Regions from separate parts of the Homo sapiens genome. Here regions 2, 3 and 4 are each linked to region 1. The links are contacts of gene promoters, found by promoter capture Hi-C in human tissues and cell types (Jung and others, 2019). All regions are on one chromosome and are shown on one strand. Each heading gives the region's core, a stretch centred on a gene start or on the middle of the fragment in contact. The rest is flanking DNA. Distances are from core to core; before and after follow the strand shown.

Region 1 (5,346 bases), core at 930-3,429:
CCCAGGCTGGAGTGCCGTGATGCAATCTCAGCTCACTGCAATTCCCGCCTCCCAGGTTCAAGCAATTCTCCTGTCTCAGCCTCCCAAGTAGCTGGGATTTGGGATTACAGGTGCCCACCACCACACCCAGCTAATTTTTTTGTATGTTTAGTAAAGACGAGGTTTGGCCATCTTGAACTCCTGGCCTCACGTGATCTTCCCCCATCGGCCTCCCAAAGTGCTGGGATTACAGGCATGAGCCACCGTGCCCAGCCTGGAAACTAAGCTTCTTGAGCCTCTTAAAACCTAGAAGGGGGTCAAAACCAGGTCAGGCTGGGGATTCATGAGCATCCAGGGCAGCATCTGAGAGCTGAGTCCAGCAATATCACACTAGAGAACTACAACTCCTAGAATTCCTCGGGCAAGCCCGCCAGCCTCACTTTGAGGCTGATTCCAAGAATCCCTATGCTTGGAAGACTAGAGTAAATGAAGTTGGCATCGAGAGTAGAGCCTGGGCCCTTGGATGTTCATGTCCTCAAAGGCCAGAGCTAATCCTTGGATTAAAGGACCCTATGACTCCCAGAATGCCCAGGGAGAAGCCCATCCTCTGGCCCAGGGGCTGATGGTCATTGTAGTTTCAGGTATGGGTGGAATGTGTCAGACGGGGCCTACCTCACCCAGGAACCAGGTGGTCAGAAAGCCAAAGAGGACAGCGTCGTTGGCCTCGCGGTCGTACCACGGCACTCCGATGTTGCAGGTATCCCAGAGCTCTCCCTTCCAGCGCTCCAGGGCCCAAGCTGAGGCACCCACGTCCAGGAGCACCACCAGAGGGCCTCCCTCGATCAGCCAGCGCCCGAAATACACCTGGGATGGGGTTGGGGAGGCACCATAGGGAGGCTCTGGGCTTCAGCCTCATATCTTCACTCATCCGTGGTTCTCCCATTTGCAGGCAGATGTCTATAGACTTAAGCCTCAGCTCTCTTATCTTCTGTTTCCATATCTGCTGCTAATTTCTCACCTGCTGCCTTAGCCTTACTTCTCTATTTGCATGATTTATTCCTGCTACACATTTTTTCCATCTCTGTTGCAATATTTTCCGTGCCCCCTGCTTACTTTCTTTCTTTCTTTTTTTTGAGATGGAGTCTCACTCTGTGGCCCAGGCTGGAGTGCAGTGGTGCGATCTCAGCTCACTGCAACCTCTGTCTCCCGGGTTCAAGCAATTCTCCTGCCTCAGCCTCCCAAGTAGCTGGGATTACAGGCACCCGCTCCCACACCTGGCTAATTTTTTTTTTTTCTTGAGACGGAGTCTGGCTCTGTTGCCCAGGCTGGAGTGCCGTGGCATGATCTCGGCTCACTGCAACCTCTGCCTCCTGGGTTCACACCATTCTCCTGCCTCAGCCTCCCGAGTAGCTGGGACTACAGCGGCCCGCCACCACGCCCGGCTACTTTTTTTTGTATTTTCAGTAGAGACGAGGTTTCACTGTGTTAGCCAGGATGATCTCCATTTCCCGACCTTGTGATCCGCCCGCCTCGGCGTCCCAAAGTGCTGGGATTACAGGCGTGAGCCACCGCACCCAGCCTCCTGTTTAATTCCTGTAACTGCTACCCTTCTCCCACTCGCTGCCTCCTTTCTCTGCTTATAACCACATATGTCACATGTCCTGTGTCTATGCCCCCACTGCCCTGTCTGGCCACTCTGCAAATCATTTCCCCTACCTGCTGCCTTGTTTCTGTACTTGCTGCCACATTTCTCTTACCAACCATCTGCATCTCCCACTGTCTTTTCTTTCTGATGCTAATTCCTTCCACGGGATGCTTCTTTTTTGTTTTCAGACAGGGTCTCGCTCTGTTGCCCAGGCTGGAGTGCAGTGGTGTGAACATGGTTCACTATAGCCTCAACCTCCCTGGCTCAGTCAATCCTCCCACCTCACCTCCTACAGGCGTGGGCCACCATGCCAGGCTGATTTTTTAATTTTTTGTGGAGATGGGGTCTCACTATGTTGCCCAGGCTGATCGTGAACTCCTGCGTTCAAGCAGTTTTCTTGCTTAGCCTCCCAAAGTGTTGAGATTAGAAGTGTGAGCCACCTAAAGCAGGCCCTTTTTTATTTTCAGAGACGGGGTCTTGCTCTGTCCTCCAGCCTGGAAGGGAGTGGTGCAATTACGGTTCACTGAAGCTTCGATCTCCCAGGCTCAAGCAATCCTTCCACCGCAGCTTCCCACGTAGCTGGGACCACAGGCACAAGGTATCACATCCCGGCTAATTTTTAACTTTTTTGTAAGGACAGGGTTTCACCATGTTGCCCAGGCTGGTCTCAAACTCCTGGCCTCAGCCTACCAAAGTGCTGGGATTACAGGCGTGAGCTACTGCACCCAGCCTGTAATGATTCTCTTACTGTTCATGCTGCCACTTTTCTTCCCCATGATGCCTTGTTTCTGTTCCTTTCATCACATATCTGTCACCTGCGACCTCTTTCCTCTATCCATAGGCCCATTTTGTAGTCCACAGCCTCCTTCCTTCCTTCCTTGCTTCCTTCCTTCCTTCCTTCCCTCTCTCCCTCCTTCCCTCCCTCTCTCCTTTTTCTTTCTTTCTTCCATTTTTTTTTGTTTGTTTTTGTTTTTGACAGGGTCTCACTCCGGTCACCCAGGCTGGAGTGCAGTGGTGCAATCATGGCTCACTGGGCTGGGCGCGGTGGCTCACGCCTGTAATCCTAGCTCTTTGGGGGGCCGAGGCGGGCGGATTGCCTGAGCTCAGGAGTTTGAGACCAGCCTGGGCAACATGGTGAAACCCTGTCTCTACTAAAATACAAAAAATTAGCCGGGCGTGGCAGCATGTGCCTGAGGTCCCAGCTACTTGGGAGGCCGAGGCAGGAGAATTGCTTGAACGCGGGAGGCGGAGGTTGCAGTGAGTCGAGATTGTACCACTGCACTCCAGACTCAGCGACAGAGTGAGATTCTATCTGAAAAAAAAAAAAAAAAAATTATGGCTCACTACAGCCTCCACATCCCATCCTCCCACCTCAGCCTCCTGAGTAACTGGGATCACGAGCACGCACCATCATGCCTGGCTAATTTTTTGTATTTTTAGTAGAGACAGAGTTTCGCCATGTTGCCCAGGTGGGTCAGGAACTCCTGGGCTCAAGCTATCCTCTCACCTCGGCCTCCCAAAGTGCTGGGATTCCAGGCATGAGCCACCGCCCTCGGCCACGCCACACATTTCTAACATAGCCCATCCTCTGTCCGTGCCCCAGGGCTGCATTTTTCTAGCCACTGCCGTGTTTCTAAGACTTGCTGTCTCACTTCTGCCTCTGCCACATTTCTCCAGTTGGCTGTTTTCCTCCCTGAGACCATGGCTTTGGTTCTGGGCCTGCTGCCACAGCAGTGGAGAAGCAGCCCCGCTCCTCGCCGACCTGGCTTTTTGCTGCCTGGAGCCTCGCTCTGAGGTCCCTCCCCCTCCCAGCTGTTGTCTGCCCTTTTGCTGGGGGGGGGGGGGGGCTATTCTTAGGCCCCCAGCACGTGGGAAGCAGCTGCCCTCAGGAAGCGACTGGGCTGTTCTGGGTTCCCTTAGGGACACAGTCGGACCTGAATGGATTCCAGACCCCACCCCAAACCAGAGGCTGTGAATGAGTAAAGGAACCACAGTGCCTCTCCATCCCCAGCCTGGACCTGTCTGTCCCTTAGCCCTGCCGCCTGATGGCTTTCTCCTTGGACAACAGCGTGCCGCCTGATGGCTTTCTCCTTGGACAACAGCGTGTCTCTTTCCGTCTTCACCCTGGGGCCCTGGAACTCCCCCTCCTCTCTAATCCCTGATCTGCCCATCTCAGACTCTGTCCTGTGGGTCTGTCCACTGACCTCTCCTCTCTTCCCCGATATTCCATGCTTCTCTCTCCTTCTAGGACTGGCTTTCTGAAACATCTGGTGGCCTCTCTTCTGTCCCCAGTCTATTACTCTTGCCTGTGGCTCCATCCACCCTTCTCCCTTGGTCTGCCTGTCCCCCTCACTCTCCAAGCTTGGCTGTTAGTAACAATAATGACGATGATCATAACAATGACAATCACCGCCCACACAATGTGCTACCTTCATGCCAAGAACTCTACTAACCACTTTGTCCTTATTAACTGTTTCCTCCTCCCAGCACCGCTAGAAGGTAGACGCTATTAGCATGTCCATTAGCCAAGGACACACAGGCAGCAAGTGGAGGGTGAACTTGAACTTCAAGCTCCAGAATCCTGCTCCTTCCTGACCTCAGGCCCACTTCTCCCCAGCTCTGCCTGGCTGGCTGGCATTCTTTTCTGAGACAGAGTCTCGCTCCGTCGCCCAGGCTGGAGTGCAGTGGCCCAATCGCAGCTCACTGCAACCTCCGCCTCCCGGGTTCAAGCGATTCTCCTGCCTCAGCCTCCCGAGTAGCTGGGATTACAGGCACCCGCCACCACACCCAGCTAATTTTTGTATTTTTGGTAGAGACGGGGTTTCGCCATGTTGACCAGGCTGTCTTTCGATCTTGCTCTCTTTCTCTCTGGGTCTGAGGACCTTGGCCTCTTGGATCTCCGTCTCAGTCTGTCTCATACTTGCCATCTGTCTGTCCATTCGCCCATGTCTGGGATCCACCCACCCACTTCCAGGCCCTGCATCTGTCTGGGTGTCCTATCACGCCTCCTTCCTGTGTCCAAGCCTGCCTCGCTCTCTGGCTGGGGCTGTCCACCCTGCACCCTCTCCGTCTGTGGCTCCCACCCCGATGGCAGGCTGTCCACCCGCTTCTGCCCTGGGCTGGGCCACGTCCCACCTTGCAGCCCTTGCTGTTCATGGAATCCAGTGTCCTCTTCAGGGCCGGGGTGGGGGCCTCCAGCAGTTCCACCTGGGTCCTCACGCCCTGCTCCGTGTACGGCCCCACCAGGAAGTAGTTGTCGCCCCATTCGTCCCCTGTCACCTTCGCCTTCGTCTGCAGCACCGTGTAGATGCCACCCACTGTGGGCCCAAGCGTGTGAGGGCAGGCCCCGGCCGAGGTCCATAGTTCTGGGGCCTGGGGTGGGGTGGGCCGGGGATGTAGGGGGCACTCAGGCCCCAGACCTCTAGCTCAGGGGGAAGAGGGGACTGGGAGCCCATAGTTTGGAGTAGGGGTTGGAAGCTTGGATGAGGGGAACACGAGGGCTGGAGGGCAGTCCTCCTGGGTCTAAGGGAGAAGGGGGCTGGGGTCAGGACCCTGAAGGAGGAGGGGGCTCAGGCTAGACTTCTGGGTCTGAGAGAGAAGGGGCTGGGTGCCGGGACCCCTTGGTCTGAAGGAATTAGGCACTGGGGCTCTAAGGATGGCAGAGCTGAGGACTGACTACCCGGACTCAGGTTCCCGAGTTCCCAGCTCACAGGAGCTGGGTT
Region 2 (5,346 bases), core at 1,603-4,102, 490 kb after region 1:
ATTACAGGCTCGCGCCACCACACCCAGATAATTTTTTGTATTTTTAGTACAGACGGGGTTTCACCATCTTGGCCTGGCTGGTTTCAAACTCCTGACCTCAAGCGGTCCGCCTGTCTTGGTCTCCCCAAAGTGCTAAGATTACAGACTTAAGCCACTGCGCACGACTGTTGATTTTTAAATAAAGGATCTTGCTCTGTTTTTTAGGCTGTAATACAGTGGCGCAGTCACAGCTTACTGAACCCACCCTCGACCTGGGCTCAATCCTCCCACCTCGGCCGGGCGTGGTGGCTCACGCCTATAATCCCAGCACTTTGGGAGGCCGAGGCAGGTGGATCATGAGGTCAGGAGATCAAGACCATCCTGGCTAACACGGTGAAACCCCGTCTCTACTAAAAATACAAAAAAATTAGCTGGGCATGGTGGCGGGCGCCTGTAGTCCCAGCTACTTGGGAGGCTGAGGCAGAAGAATGGCGTGAACCCGGGAGGTGGAGCTTGCAGTGAGCCGAGATCGAGCCACTGCACTCCAGCCTGGGCGAAAGAGTGAGACTCCGTCTCAAAAAAAAAAAAAAAAAATCCTCCCACCTCAGCCTCCTGAGCAGCTGGGACCACAGGCACGCACCACCATGCCTGGCTAATTTTTTTTTTTTTAATAGGCAGAGTCTACCTACGTTGCTCAGGCTGGTCTTGAACTCCTGGCCTCAAGCGATCCTCTCGCCTCAGCCTTTCAAAGTGTGGGACTGCAGGCATCAGCCACCACACCTGAAGTAGAATTCTTTTTGATGTAAGAAACCCACTCTTACTAGTTTAGGATAAAAGGGAGTTTTCAGAGGCCAGGCTCGGTGACTCAGGCCTGTAATCCCAACACTTTGGGAGGCCGAAGTAGGCGGATCACCTGAGGTCAGGAGTTTGAGAGCAGCCTGGCCAACACAGTGAAACCCTGTCTGTACTAAAAATACAAAAATTAGCTGGGTGTGGTGGCGGGCACCTGTAATCCCAATTACTCAGGAGGCTGAGGCAGAAGAATCACTCGAACCCAGGAGGCAGAGGTTGCAGTGAGCTGAGAGCACACACTTCACTCTAGTCTGGGCAACAGAGCAAGGCTCCATCTCAAAGAAAAAAAAAATGAGAGTTTTCCGGACTAGGTGTGGCAGTTCACACCTGTAATCCCAGCACTTTGGGAGGCCGAGGTGGGTGGATCACTTGTCAGAAGTTTGAGACCAGCCTGGGCACCATGGTGAAATCCCGTCTCTACTAAAATTATAAAAATTAGCCAGGCGTGGTGGCGGCACCTGAAATCCCAGCTATCTGGGAGGCAGGAGAATTGCTTGAACCTGGGAGGCAGAGGGGGAGCTTGCAGTGAGCCAAGATCGTGCCACTGCACTCCAGCCTGGGCAACACAGCGAGACTCGGTCTCAAAAAAAAAAGAGAGAGAGAGAGGAGTCTTCTGGAAGGCTACAGAGATTCCCTAGAGGCAATAGGGCGATAGGGCAGGACACACATTGAGGGGCCCCAGGACTTGGTCAGGAAGGAGCTAGAGCAGGTCCTTTGTCCATGGGCCACATGAGCTATTGGGGCTTGTATCTCTGCCTCTCTGCTTCATTTAAATCTTTCTAGCCAGATGGAAGGTCTGACCATTGGGTGCGACAAGGCAGCTAACCCAGGCTGAACAGGAAGTGAGGCAGGCAGAGGGATCAGGGAAGGGAAATGGATGATGAAGGCCAGGACGGGCGAGGCTTTGCTGCAGTAACACATAACCCCCGAATCTGCGTGGGCCACAACCACAACATTAGTTTGTTGCTTACACTCCCTGTGCTCATCCGGGGCTGGCAGGATCCCTGTGCTCCTCCGAGTGGCACAGGAAACTTGGCTGATAGAGGCGCTCTCTCCATGCATCCTCCACCATCCACTCCCCGGTCCCTTAGACTTCCATTCAGAAGTGACACCTGTCACCTCCACCCTCATGTGACTGGCCAAAGTGAGTGTGGCCATGTCCGAGTTCCCCAGGATGGGACCTCGAATCCTCCTGCTGGGGGGGTGGGGGCAGCAGATGTTTCAGGACAGTCTGCCACGGATCAGATGGGTGAGCAAGAGATTCAGGATGGGCGTGATGGGTCACACCTGTAATCCCAGCATTTTGGGAGGCCGAGGCAGGCTGATCACCTGAGGTCAGGAGTTCGAGATCAGCCTGGCCAACATAGTGAAACCTCGTCTCTACTAAAAATACAAAAATTAGCCGGGCATGGTGGCACGCACCTGCAATTCCAGCTACTTGGGAGCCTGAGGCACAAGAATTGCTTAAGCCCAGGAGGCGGAGGTTGCCGTGAGCCGAGACTGTGCCACTGCACTCCAGCCTGGGCAACAGAGTGAGACCCCATCTAAAAAAAAAAAATGCTTCAGAGATTCAGAGATCCACAGATGTGGAAGAGAGCTTCTATTTTGTCTCATGTACCACCTCACCCCTCAGTTTGGAGTTGGAGAAGCCGAGGCTTAGAGAGGTCAAGGGGCTGGCCAAGCTCCCACAGTGATAAAGCTAGTGCTAGGGCGACACCTGCCAGGCCCAATGTGACAAGATGCATCCTGAGTCCTGTGTGCCAAGCCTTGGCGGGGCAAAGTTGGGGCCCGGAGGACGGTAAGACACAGCAACTGCGAGTTCCCAGAGACAGATCCGGGTTCCAGCCCCAGCTCACCATGCACTGGGCGTGCCACCCAGGGAGTCAGCCCCACTGCAGCCCCCGCTGCGGGGCGTCCGGAGAACGCGCCATCTGCGGCGTGAGCGGCCGCCTCTCACCACCAGGGGGCGCGCTCCGCCTGGGCCCAGATTCCACCCCTTGACTGTCTCCCCCCAAAAATTTCCTTTCACTTTCGGTCTCTGGCTGTCACCCGGCTTGGCCCCTTCCACACCCAACTGGGGCAAGCCTGGTGCGTGAGGAGACTTGGACTCTAGGTCCCCAAGGGGCGGAGCCAGGGTCCCCACTCCTGGGGCAGGGGGAGCAGAGGGTGGGGGGCTGGGTTCCCGGGTCCCTAACCTGGGGAGGGTTCTGGGGACCAGACGTCGAGGTTCTTAGAAGTGGAGATGAAGAGTTTTCACCGTAACTGGGGCAGACGCAGGAAGCCTGGGGGAGGAAGGGGCGGAAACTCAGCCACATCAATGGGACGCGGGAGGGGCGGGGAGGCAAAGGGGCGGGCAGGGCAGGGGCTGGGGCATGAGGGTCCGAGACTTGTTCTTCTGTCCCTTCCAAGACCCGGCGACAGGAGGCATGAGGGGCCCCCGGCCGAAATGACAGTGCTGGCGCCAGCCTGGAGCCCAACAGTGCGTAAACCCCAGGGACAAGATCAGGGGAGAGGGGAGGCACAATGTCAGGATGGGGCAGAGATGAGGGGAGATGGACGGGAGAACAGATGGACAGATGACGAGGAAATAGGAGGGGAGATGGACAGATGTGAGGGGAGATGGATAGGAGAGGAGACGGACAGAGGAGGGGGAGATGGACAGAGGATGGGGAGATGGACAGAGGAGGGGGAGATAGAGGAGAGGGAGATAGAGAGGAGTGGGAGATGGACAGGAGCGGGGAGATGGACAGAGGAGGGGGAGATGGACAGAGGAGAGGGCAGATGAACAGAGGAGAGGGAGATAAAGAGGAGGGAGGTGGACAGGAGGAGGGAGATGGACAGAGAAGGGGGAGATGGACAGAGGTGGGGGAGATGGACAGGAGGGAAGATGGAGAGGAGGGGGTATGGACAGAGGAGAGGGGAGATGGACAGGAGGGGGAGATGGACAGAGGAGAGGGAGATGAAGAGGAGGGGGAGGTGGACAGGAGGAGGGAGACGGACAGAGGAGAGGAAGAGAGACAGAGGAGGGGGGAGATGGACAGAGGAGGGGGAGATGGACAGAAAAGGGGGGAGATGGACAGAGGAGAGGGAAGGTGGACAGAGCCAAGAACAAATGAAGAGGACGTGGACCAAGATCAAGAGAGAAGCAGGCAACAGTGGTGTAGAAGGCAGAGGGAGGGACAGAGCTGGAGGAACCCGGGCGAGGAAACCAGACGTGAAGATGAGGTGGTTGGAGAGAGACCAGCAGAGTGGGGGAGATGGGGAGAGAGAGGGGTGGGGCAGAGGGGGATGCAAACTGGACAGCATTGGACCAGAGGCAGAGAGAAACCGGGAAAGACAGGCAGAGATGGGGCCATGTCTCCAGAAAGTGTGGAAGAGGCAGAAGGACACCCAGGGAAGGAGGAGCGGGGAAGACAGAACAGTACAGGTGGGAAGCCCGGAGGAGGGGGCTGTGTGTGGAACAGCAGAGGGCTCCCCCAGCACCCGCTCCCCTGCAGACCTATCTCCTCCTGCTGCTGCTGCTGAGCTCGGGACTCAGTGGGACCCAGGACTGCTCCTTCCAACACAGCCCCATCTCCTCCGACTTCGCTGTCAAAATCCGTGAGCTGGTGAGCGGCGCTGCCCCGGACCCCCTCATGTGATCCCCCTTCCCCCCACTTTTTTTTTTAAGTAGAGATGGGGTCTCTCTCCCTGTGTTTCCCAGGGTGGTCTTGAACTCCTGGGCTCAAGCGATCCTCCCACCTTGGCCTCCCAAAGTGCTGGAATTACAGGCGTGAGCCACTGTGCTTAGGGGTGTCATCCCTTTTTAAGGGCAAGGTTCTGTGGCTTCTTCTGGGCTCCCCCTCTCTTGGTCTTGTCCCTCTCTCTCTGGATCTCTGCTGCCACCTCTGGGTCCCCACAGTTCTGTTTCTCGCTGTTTTCAGCCAGGCCTGATCCTGTTTTCTCCCGCAGTCTGACTACCTGCTTCAAGATTACCCAGTCACCGTGGCCTCCAACCTGCAGGACGTAAGTCATGTTGGGAGGGACCTGGGATGGAGGTGGGGACCACAGACTCAAGATGCTCCACCGAGGCGAGTGGATAACCAGGCCCTCCCCTCCCCAAACCCAGGAATCAGAGTCCTCAGCCCCTCCTCCCTCAGACCCAGGAGCCCCGGCCCAGCCCCTCCTCCCTCAGACCCAGCAGCCCCGTGCCCAGCTCCTCCCTCAGACCCGTGGGTTCTCCCCTCTAGGAGGAGCTCTGCGGGGGCCTCTGGCGGCTGGTCCTGGCACAGCGCTGGATGGAGCGGCTCAAGACTGTCGCTGGGTCCAAGATGCAAGGCTTGCTGGAGCGCGTGAACACGGAGATACACTTTGTCACCAAATGTGCCTTTCAGGTCAGCCCTCAACTTAGGGGACAAGTGAGGGGAGGGAGATGCCTTCCTACGAATTAGAAGTAAAGCTCCACTAGGCCTTATTGGCGATTTGGACCATAGCCACCCAACGAAGGTAGAGCGAGAAGCGCCACCCTGCAGAGCC
Region 3 (5,346 bases), core at 377-2,876, 320 kb before region 1:
AGATGAAGACTCAGTCACAAAGAAATAGAGGACAGGACAGAGGCAGAGAGAGGACAGTCAGCCTAGGGGAGGCGCTCGGCACAGAGAAGTTGCTGCAAAGACAGAGGAACAGACAGGAGGCTGAGAGGCTGAGACAGAGGCCAGGCACCCAGAGGCCACAGGGAGCTGGGAGACTGAGGCTCGGACTGCCTGGGGGCTGGGATAGGTGGGCAGGTGGGCTCAGAGACACCCAGCCTGGCAGGCCCTGGGGAGGGGAGGGAAGGGGACAGGCTAGGGGTGTCTGGCGGGGGATCAGAAGTGAGAGACCGAGGCCCAGGCCTGCAGGGATCAGAGCCATTGCCTTTCCCACATGGGGCCCTAACCTTGTTCTCCACACCCTGGGCACGGAAGGGGATTATCACCAAACAACCCAGCCTCCCTGCCACCCGCCCACCCACCCCCAGCGCCCCACCCTTAACCCTTTCCCACCCGAGTGCAAAGCCCAGAGAGCTGAGCTGAGGAAAGGGATGCTGGGAGCTGGAACCTGGGTGGCTCTGGGGCTTGGGAGCGGGACAGTGGGATCCCCATGGGGTCAGGGGAAGCAGACACCTGGGTTCCCTTCAGAACTCAGGGTGTGGGGACCGGAAGTTAGCGTTCTGGGACTTTCTGCTCACCTCAACCCTGCCCTCTATTCTGGGCCTCAGGGCCTGGAGACCAGAGTCCCCACATTCTCCACCCATCCAGAGTTCCCCAGAGCAGATGGGGGAACAGATGTTGGGGGCGGTGGGTAATGAGGAGGAGAGAGGCAGGAAGGCAGGAGCTGGGACAGGGTGGGGTGCCAGATGCCAGGGCGCCCGTGGGGGCAGAAGCCCAGACCCTAGGAATGGCAGGAGCTGGGAAGGACTGGACTCTGAAATGCCCCCACTTTCCCCTTCCAGGGCCAGCAGCCTCTGGTGAGGAGCTCACTGTGGACTGGGGGCCTCGGAGCCTTTCCAGGCCCTTGGCTCTGAATCTGCGCCCAGGAATGTCCCTGGGCTGGGCATCTCTGGGGCACCCTGGCGGTTGAGGTGGGCCACACCTGCCCCAGCCTGGCCTCACTGCCCATGTCCCCACTGCTGTTGGCCACATGCAGACGCTGCCTCCCCTGGCCCAGATGACAGGCCTCGCCCTCCGCCCTCCCAAGGAGCCTGGCGCCATTTTGCACCCACTCAGGTGGCAGCCGCCTGCCTGGCCCTCAGCAGCATCCTGTTAAGGGCCAGTCCCCCATGTCCCCTTTCTCTCTGGATAGTTGCTGGATAGTTCAGGGGGTGGCACCCTCTGGCCCTTAGCACCTTGAGGAACCAGGCTGTGAGTTCCCTAGTGTTCCTGGGGGATCCAGAAACCAGTCGTGGCCCACAGAGAGCCCATACCCCTCTTTAAGAAAGAGTCCAGCCATGCTCCCAGCAGACTCATAGGAGGCCTGCCTGGGCGGCCTGGGGTCCATCTGGGACCCAGGCTTCCTTTCCCTGGCTCTTGGCATGCACCCCCCAACCCGAGCCCTGAGGCCCCGACATTGGCCAAACCTGCACTCAAGAAGAGAGCGTCCTGCAGCCAGTTCCCCGCAGGCTCTTCCTCCAAGCTGTGGCGCGGTGGGCTCTCAGGAGGGAGTGGCGTGGCTGTTCTCAGGCCCCAGGCTAGTGGGGTTTCTGGGCTGGGCGGGGGCTCAGAGCAGAGCCCGCAGAATCTAACACCGCCACCCCCCTCCCACCCCAATCCCTCACCAACCGCAGCCACGCTATCCCCACAGGGACCCCTGCCAGCCAGGCCACCCGCAACGGTGTGGGACGTGAGTGCCGTTGCCCCCGGCGGTCCAGCAGCAGGACAGCCCCGAGCAGCCTGGCCTAGGAGGCTCACCGCAGGTAGGACGGGAGGCTGTCAGTCGGGGGTCCCGCTCCATCCCACTCCACCCCTGCCCACTGGCTCAGCCCCGCCTTGTGGTGGCCGCCATCGCGATCGGGCAGGGGCTGACCTTTGGGAGACAATCGCTGTTGGAAACTTTGCTCAGCCCCTGCCTCTGGCTGCGTGACCCCAAGCCAGCCCCTCCTCCTCCTCTCTGGAACCTTTTGTCAGCTGTGGGTTCACCGAGCCTTAAGGTCAGTAAAATCTGTGCTCTTGGAAGGTTCAGACCAGCCCCTGGAATTCAAAAGACCTCAGTCGCTTTCTAAGATGGTGGGGAAGGCGACAAATGAGCTGAGAACACCTGGGCCCCAGTGTTTCTCATGCGGCAGAGGGAGAAGGCGGGGACCCCCGGGGTGCGGGGGACCAAGCTCAAAAGCACCTCCCCAGTGCCGCTGGTGTCCTGCGAGTCCTCAGTGCTTTCATCGTGACATTTTCATGCGAATGTTGCTGTCTGTTCTATTCCATCTCCGAATGGGTTGACTAGAAAAATAATGTTTTCTGTCACTTCCCGCTGAGAAAAGCAAGGGCCTCATGGAGTTGGGGCGCGGCACCTGCTGCCCTGGGTGGCCCCAGCGTTTATCGTGGTGTAGCGTGGGCCCAATCCTGACAGGCTTGGGACCCACTGCCCCAGGCCCGCCCCCAGGGGGTGCGAGGGCACAGCAAAGGCGACCCTCGACTCTGGACCCTTAGGTACCACGTTGGAGGGGGCCAGATTTGGCAGGAGCAGGACAGGGACATCGGATTTGAAAGAAGGGAGTCACTCCGAAAGCTGGGAGGTGCATCAGCTGCAGGAGGATGGAATGGGGCTGAGACGCCCCCCATCAGAGGGGGCATGTCAGAGCTGGGGGCCCAGGCTGTGTGAGTCAGAGTGGAACTTCGGGATTCAGGCGCAGGTCCCTCCGCTGACCCTGCCTGAGCTCCCCCTGTATGGGACTTTGCCGGGGGTTCGCGCTGGGAACACAGACCCCTGCCCCATCAGGCTCAGTGTCCAGAGAGGGAGGGGGAGACCCCAGCAGCGCAGGTCCTTCTGTGCTCTAGGTTGTTGGAAGGTGCCAAGTGCCTTGGAGCAAAGCAAGTGGGGGGGGCGGCCACGGGGGCCCGGGGATTGCAGATGTAAGTGGGGTGATGCGGAGGGGCATTTGTGCTGAGCCCACCGCCAGCACAGAACCCAGCTTTGCTGCCACACAAAACTGAGGAAGAAGGCTTAGGTCTCGCTGCGTCTTCCTCCCCACCTGGGCGAAGTCTCAAGCTCCGGCTCCTGGAGGGAAGCTTTTGTTCCTTGCAGCTTGAGCTGCCTGAGTTGATGGGCGCCCCTGCGGGTGCCCGGGGGCAGGCGGGGAAGAACAGACGGAGCTGCCACAGCCGAGCACATAGTGCCCCAAGCTGGGAAGGAGACTGTTTTTTTTGTTGGGGAGAGTTCTTTAAGGGCTGGAGACCTTCACCCTCACAGCTTCTACAGAAGGCCAGGCCTGCCCAAGGCACATCTCTGAGGTGGGTTCAACCCAGAGAGAACCTCAGTGCTGGGCTCACACAGACCTCTAACCCCTGCCTTGGTGGCCCAGATATAACGGAGTCTCCACGAGGCAGGGCAGGTCACCCGCAGGAGTTACTGGGCATTGTGTGGCTGGGTAGGGCCTGCCCTCCCGGACATGTTCAAAAAGGCCAGGATGGTAACCCCAGCCATACTGCCTGGGTTCAAATCCACCTCTGTCCTAGCTGTGTGACCGAGAACAAGCTTCTTAACCTCTCTGTGCCTTCATTTCCTCATCTGTTAAATGAGGAAGAAAGAATGGACCTTCCTCATGGTGGGCGGAGGGGGTCATGAGGACTGAATGAGCTGACATGCCCACGGGTTCTTATCTGAGCTCTCTGGGAAAGTCGTGTTCCGGAACCTTCTGCTTCCTGGCCCTGTTGTCGGATGCATAGTACGTACGTGACATGGCATCCATGGTAGGTCTGGGCCGCATCACATTGTCAAACATGTTATGTTTTAGGCAGCAGAGCACATGGGTGTTCACAGTAAGAGAAGTAAAGTCTGCAAATAGCCACATGACCCTCCTCCAAGCCAGGGTTGTCCCCAGATGAGTTCAGTCCAGGTTGGCGTTTGCCGCTCCCCCTGAGGAAAATGGCTGACAAGGAATCGCGGACCAGGACAGCCAGCCCCGTGATGGGCCTGCCCGCCAGCACCCTCGCAGCCTCGGCCTTGGCTGGTGCTTTTCTGCGGCTTTCTGGTTGTCTAGGCTGAGAACAGCCACAAGAGGGAGCACCTGAGATTCCAGGAGAAGCCAGAGCAGCCGCGGTACCCACTGCTTGATCTGCAGGGCCTGGGGGAAAATGCAGACACAGGACCCCTTGTTTAGAATTTATGAAGGATTTTAAGACGGCAACACCAGATCATTAAAGCAAGCGTGGGGCCTGTCTCAGCGCAACTGCACGAGTCACACAAAATGAAGGCGGACCCCGCGGGGGGCACCCTTGTCCTGAGCTGGTTTCCCTTGGCCAGTGACCCAGGCTCCTGTCCCTGCCCTGCACCCCCACTGACCCCAGCTCTAGCCTTGGGACCTGCCTGGGGGCTCCAGCTGGGCTCAGAGCTCAGCTCCTTCTCCGTGGGGCAGGACCCTGAGTTGAGTGGATGGCAAGATCATGTTTGGGACACAGTTTTCACCAGCTCAGTGAAAAAAGGCTTGGGCAGATTTAATTCACTTTTTGCAAACTAAAGCAGCACCAGGAGCATTTTTCTTAGGCCTTAGGCCAGCTGGCCTTGCTGGGGACCCACACGAGACTTTCAAGGAGGGCCCCAGAGTGTTCAGGCTTCTCAGAAGGGTCAGATGAACCAAATGAGGAGCCCTGGAATAGAGGAGGATGACAGCTGAAGAGGCCTGGAGGGCCCCAGATTGTTCAGGCTTCTCAGAAGGGCCAGATGAACCAAATGAGGAGCCCTGGAATAGAGGAGGATGACAGTTGAAGAGGCCTGTAGGCCCCCGATGTTTAAGAGGACAGGCGGAGGGAGAGATGGGGAGCCGGGAGGGGTGAGGCAGAAGCCAGAAGTTTTAGGGGTGAGCCCATGCCAACCAGGGCTTCAGCAGGAATGGGGTGGGAGGGAGGGGGTGAAGGGATGACTGCTGAGCTGTAGCCATTGGAGTGGCCACAGGGAAACCATAGGACATTGGTCAGAGGAGTGGACAAGGGGAGAAGAGAAAGCCGATCAGGACATGGTAGAGGCTGGGAGCAGAGGACCTTCTGGGAGCCCTGGGGAGAGCTGGAGGAGACTCGGAAAGAGCAGCCCCCGGAGAAGGGACCATCCATCCCACGGCGAGGACCGGGACCGAGGTCCTTGGAGCCCAGTCAGGCCCAGTGGTCAGGGCTGGACCTGGAGGTGAATAGGTGTGGGCCCCACGGTGAGATGGCCCTGCACACCCACCACAACCA
Region 4 (5,346 bases), core at 2,641-5,140, 290 kb before region 1:
CAGAGTCTTGCTCTTTTGCCCAGGCTGGAGTGCAGTGGTGCGATCTCGGAACACTGAAACCTCCACCCCACCCCGCCTCTGCCTCCCAGGTTCAAGCAATTCTTCTGCCTCAGCCTCCCAGGTAGCTGAGATTACAGGTGCTCACCACCACACAGCCAGCTAATTTTTGTATTTTTTTTTTTTTAGTAGAGACAGGGCTTCACTATGTTGACCAGGCTGGTCTCAAACTCGTGACCTCAAACGATCTACCTGCCTTGGCCTCCCAAAGTGCTGGGATTACAGGCATTAGCCACTGCGTTTGACCTCTCCATTTTTACCTGTATAAATGAGTTCCACTTTTCCCCATACTGGAAGCACTGATCACCATTCTTCGGTGTCCTTGTGTCCCTGGACAGCCACCCTCACACACTTGTGTTTAAAAAAACTTTTCTTATTTTTTTCTTGAGATGGAGTCTCGTTCTGTCACCCAGGCTGGAGTGCAGTGGCGTGATCTCAGCTCACTGCAACCTCCACCTCCCAGGTTCAAGCAATTCTCATGCCTCAGCTTCCCGAGTAGCTGGGACTACAGGTGTGCACCACCACACCCAGGTAATTTTTGTATTTTTAGTAGAGACTGGGTTACAGCATGTTAGCCAGGCTGGTCTCGAACTCCCGGTCTCAAGCAATCTGCCTGCCTCAGCTTCCCAAAGTGCTGAGATTACAGGCGTGAACAACTGTGCCCAGATTTATTTTTTAATTTTTCAGAGGCAGGGTCTTTCTCTGTCACTCAGGCTGGAGTGCAGCGTCAGGATCATAGCTGACGCTGGACCTCCTGGGCTCCTCTTGCCTCAGCCTCTCAAGTAGCTGGGACTACAGACATGTGCCACCATGTCTGGCTAATTTTCTTTATTTTTTGTAGAGAGACAAGGTCTTGCTATGTTGCCCAGGCTGGTCTTTAACTTCTGGCTTCAAGCTATGCTCCTGCCTCAGCCTCCTGAGTAGCTGAGATTACAGGTGCATGCCTCCATGCCTGGCCACCACGGCCAATTTCAAGCTACCAATATGAGATCATTGAACATGCAATTGGAAAGAAATGCACAGTATTACATTGTTCTATAGCAAGCCTATTACACAGACATAATAAATGTAAATAGGCCAGGCAAGATGGTTCATACCTGTAATCCCAGCACTTTGGGAGGCTGAGGCAGGAGGATCGCTTTGAGCTCAGGAGTTCGAGGCCAGCCTGGGTAACATAGTGAGACCCCATCTCTACAAAAAAACACAAAATTAACTGAGTGTGGTGACGGGCACCTGTAGTCCCAGCTACTCAGGAGGCCAAGGCAGGAGACTCATTTGAGCCCAGGAGGCGGAGGTTGCAGTGAGCACATACATTGATTGGCACACAGATTGGCAGATACTAACATACAGTGTGTTTTTTTCTCCAGAGAACTGGCTGGTAAGTGTTTACCATAGTAAGAAGACTTACTATAGAACAATGTATTACTGTGCGTTTCTTTCCAATTCCATGTTCAATGATCTCTTATTGGTAGCTTGAAATTGGCCGTGGTGGCCAAGCATGGGGGCGTGCACCAGTAAGGGAAAGCTGAAATGGAAAACAGAGGGTTTAGGGCAACAGTCCTGAATTCCGGAGTGCTGTCCCCCTGGGGGAGTTATGGGAATCTGTGGGGGTTGTTTTTAGTTGTCACAGTGGAGGTCCTAGGATGCTACCACAGCGTTTACGCGGCTGGGGTCAGCGACAATAAAAGTTACGCAATGAAGGTTTGTCCTGCATTCTCAGGACTTTGTTTTATTTTTGAGACAGAGTCTTGCTCTGTCACCCAGGCTGGAGTGCAGTGGTACCATCTCGGCTCACTGCAACCTCTGCCTCCCAGGTTCAAGGAATTCTCCTCCCCTAGCCTCCTGAGTAGCTGGGATTACAGGCGTGCACCACCATGCCCAGCTAATTTTGTATTTTTAGTAGAGATGGAGTTTCACTAAAAAAAAATGTTGGCTAGGCTGGTCTCAAACTCCTGACCTCAGGTGATCCTCCTGCCTCGGCCTCCCAAAGTGCTGGGATTGCAGGCATGAGCCACTGCGCCCAGGTCATTCCCATGACTTTGGAACATCTGTGGGACATTCATGGAGTTGGAAAGTCTAAGCCTCTGAGCCCCAAATCTGTTTTGCGTTTTTTTTTTTTTTTTTTTTTTGAGAGGGAGTCTTGCTCTGTCGCCCAGGCTGGAGTGCAGTGGTGTGACCTCGGCTCACTGCAAGCTCCGCCCCCGGGGTTCACGCCATTCTCCTGCCTCAGCCTCCCAAGTAGCTGGGACTACAGGCACCCACCACCACGCCCGGCTAATTTTTTTTTTATATATATTTTTAGTAGAGACGGGGTTTCACTGTATTAGCCAGGATGGTCTCAATCTCCTGACCTCGTGATCCGCCCGACTCAGCCTCCCAAAGTGCTGGGATTACAGGCGTGAGCCACCACACCTGGCCTGTTTTGCATATTTTATGACAGCTCACCTCCCCACTTCCCCGCCCCACCCTGTTTCTTTTTTCCTTGTCGCTGAATCACAGGGAAACAGGTCGTTTGTCCTGTGGACGGGCTCACATTCTGGACTGGGCTGATTGCTGCCTCATGGTGTCGTTTCACTGGGAACTTTGTCCTCCTGTTTTCTGCAAACTGGTGGTTAGAGTGGGAAGCTTGATCTGATTTTTTTGTTTGTTTGTTTGAAGGGAGCTCCGTAGCTGGTAGGTAGCCTCCTGCTGCTTAGCTGAAGCTGGGGAGTGGCTGCTGGTTTCTCTTTCCTCCTGTTAGGACTGCTGGGAGCTCTGGTGGTGCCTGCCTCTTCTCTCAGTAAAATTCCTCATCCATCTTTTTTTTTTTTGAGACAGAGTTTTGCTCTTGTTTCCCAGGCTGGAGTGCAATGGTGTAATCTCAGTTTACTGCAACCTCCGCCTCCCAAGTTCAAGCGATTCTCCTGCCTCAGCCTCCCAAGTAGCTGGGATTACAGGTGCATGCCACCACGCCCCACTGATTTTTGCATTTTTAGTAGAGACAGGGTTTCACCATGTTGGCCAGACTGGTCTCAAACTCCTGACCTCAGGTGATCCACCTGCCTCGGCCTCCCAAAGTGCTGGGATTACAGGCATGAGCCACTGTGCTGGGCCATGGCTAATTTCTGTATTCTTATAAGGACGGGGTTTCACCTTGTTGGCCAGGCTGGTCTCTGACTCCTGACCTCAGTTGATCCGCCTGCCTCGGCCTCCCAAAGTGCTAGAATTACAGGTGTGAGTCACCACACCGGGCCCATTTGTATTTAAAAATTTTTTTGAAATAGGCAGGGCGAGGTGGCTCACGTCTGTAATCCCAGCACTTTGGGAAGCTGAGGCAGGAGAATCCCTTGAACTTGTGAGGCGGCGGTTGCAGTGAGCTGAGATCACGCCATTGCACTCCAGCCTGGGCAACAAGAGCAAAACTCTCTCAAAAAGTAATACTACTAATAATTAATTAATAAATAAATATAAGACTCTGAGGGGACTCAGAGTCAGCGAGAGCCTGGCCTAGCAGGACTCTGTCCCCCGCCTCCATGCTGCCTTCCTGGAGGCCTTCCTGGCTGCCTGGAGGAGCGGAGCAGAGTGGGGGCCCCTTTCTGTTGGGGCATCACAACAGTTCCCCAAGGAAGACCCTCGGGGACCCGGATGGGGGATGCGACCTTGTCCTGCCTCTCTCCCCCACCCTTATGGCCAGGCTTGGGGTGCCTGGTGCAGGTGGAGGAGCTAAGGGTAGATAACAAGATGGACTTTGTGGCCGGCAATGGGGAGGGAGGAGGGGCTACGGGCTCACCTCCCTCCCGCAGCCCAGCCACACCTGCTCTGGAAAGCCCTGTAGCTCCTGGGCGGGGTTTGCCAGTCACCGATGCTGGAAGGGTTTCTTTGGCCCTGAGTGAAGAGAGACCCAGAGGGAACACTGAGGTGCCTGCCCAACCACTCTGTCCCGGTTTCCTTCAGCAGGACCAGGTGAGAGAAGGTGAGGGGGCTCCTCTCCCACCCTACAACACGCACACCTCTGCACACACGCCCAGGCGGAGAGCAGGGATTTGGGACGTGGACCTGTGTGCCCTCGTGGGTCCCTGGTGCCCTCTGGGAGGCACCCCCAACTCAGGACCTCCAGGAGAGGAGGGTCCCTCCCTCGGCAGCCAGGACCCCCCTCCCCAGCCAGCCGCCCTCCTTAGCTCCCTCCCCACTTCCTTCCAGGTGGATCTGTTTCTAGAGCTCCAACCACCAGCTCCCTCCCCTTCTCCACCCCGGGCCACCAGGTCCTTCCTTGTCTCCTTCCCCTCAGCAGTTTCTATGAACCACCCTGGCAGTAATGGTGCAGATGGCTCGCGCACAGCTGGTGGTGACCCGACTTTCCTGCCTCCACCCTGGGGCTCCTCAGAGGCTTCATGGAACCCAAACTGCTGGTCTCACCTCCGAGCCCTGCCGTCGCCCAGGGAGGGCGGCTCCGTCCCTCCTGCACTCCCTAATCCCGCTCTGAATCACCGCTTCTGTTCTGGGTCGGAGAATAAAGGTGGGGTTTCCAAGTGATGGCCCTACGTTATTGTCTGAAGCTCCCTTCTCCTCCCCAGGGTGGAAGTGATAATGCCGGGAATCCGGGAATCCCGGGGAGGTGCAGGAAGACAGCGAGCTCGAGGCAGTGGGGTGCGACTGAGCCGGATGTGCTGAGCTGCCCGGGGCACGGGGCGGTTGGGGTAGAGAAAGGCTTTCAGAGCTGGGGGACAGGACGGGGCCCCGGGTGAGCGGAGAGCTGGGTTATTTCACGGGAACAGCTGGTGACAAAGCCGGAGGGGTGTGCGGGGCCGGCGAGAGACTGGGATTGTGTCTTAAGAGGCATAGGGAGCCCTGAAGGGGCTGCGAGCTGGGAAGGGGCAGGGCCGGCGCTGGGTGTAGGGGACAGAGGGGAGAGGAGGAAGCCGGGCCGCAATAGAAAGACGTGGACGGGGCTGGACGTGGTGGCTGACGCCTGTAATCCCAGCACTTTGGGAGGCCGAGACAGGCGGATCACTTGAGGTCAGGAGTTCGAGACCAGTCTGGCCAACATGGAGAAACCCCGTCTCTACTAAAAATACAAAATTAGCCAGGCGTGGTGGTGCATGCCTGTAATCCCAGCTACTCGGGAGGCTGAGGCAGGAGAATCGTTTGAACCCGGGAGGCGGAGGTTGTGGTGAGCCGAGATTGTGCCATTGCACTCCAGCCTGGGGAACAAGAGCAAAACTCCGTCTCAAAAAAAAAAAAAAAAAAAAAAATCTCAGTAAGATAGACCAGGTGTGGTGTCTCATGCCTGTAATCCCAGCACTTTGGGAG

The links. The method cuts DNA at HindIII sites, captures the fragments that hold promoters and counts their contacts. A contact is called where the count stands out against the background at its distance.
Region 2: the fragment with the promoter of FLT3LG here is called in contact with a fragment that was not itself captured in region 1 in 1 of the 25 tissues and cell types used here (dorsolateral prefrontal cortex).
Region 3: a contact is called between the fragment with the promoter of NTN5 here and a fragment that was not itself captured in region 1, in 2 of the 25 tissues and cell types used here (dorsolateral prefrontal cortex and stomach).
Region 4: a contact is called between the fragment with the promoter of FUT2 here and a fragment that was not itself captured in region 1, in 6 of the 25 tissues and cell types used here (bladder, dorsolateral prefrontal cortex, lymphoblastoid cells and 3 more).

The regions. Positions count from the first base shown.
Region 1 is chr19:48,986,543-48,991,888 of GRCh38, forward strand. GYS1 (glycogen synthase 1) reads right to left here. Exons shown (of 16, transcript NM_002103.5): 2 at 4,760-4,941; 3 at 652-843. Among named protein-coding and RNA genes, the nearest start is that of GYS1, 4.1 kb to the right of the region's middle. RefSeq lists a silencer at 1,910-2,092 and an enhancer at 3,223-3,614. The HindIII fragment of the contact is 7,422 bases long and covers 1-5,346 here.
Region 2 is chr19:49,471,363-49,476,708 of GRCh38, forward strand. It overlaps FLT3LG (fms related receptor tyrosine kinase 3 ligand), which reads left to right and starts at 2,853. Exons shown (of 9, transcript NM_001459.4): 1 at 2,853-2,919; 2 at 3,241-3,310; 3 at 4,329-4,439; 4 at 4,783-4,836; 5 at 5,061-5,204. The coding sequence starts at 3,278. RefSeq lists a silencer at 3,232-3,311 and an enhancer at 4,630-4,809. The HindIII fragment of the contact is 13,748 bases long and covers 848-5,346 here.
Region 3 is chr19:48,671,391-48,676,736 of GRCh38, forward strand. It overlaps NTN5 (netrin 5), which reads right to left and starts at 1,627. Exons shown (of 7, transcript NM_145807.4): 1 at 1,542-1,627. It overlaps LOC105372431 (a long non-coding RNA gene), which reads right to left. Exons shown (of 3, transcript XR_936016.3): 2 at 3,851-4,241; 3 at 1,756-2,397. It also overlaps the pseudogene SEC1P. RefSeq lists enhancers at 3,184-3,832, 3,833-4,480 and a silencer at 4,106-4,255. The HindIII fragment of the contact is 16,713 bases long and covers 1-3,419 here.
Region 4 is chr19:48,692,081-48,697,426 of GRCh38, forward strand. FUT2 (fucosyltransferase 2 (H blood group)) reads left to right here and starts at 3,891. Exons shown (of 2, transcript NM_000511.6): 1 at 3,891-4,009. RefSeq lists enhancers at 3,162-3,725, 4,290-4,853. The HindIII fragment of the contact is 31,324 bases long and covers 1-5,346 here.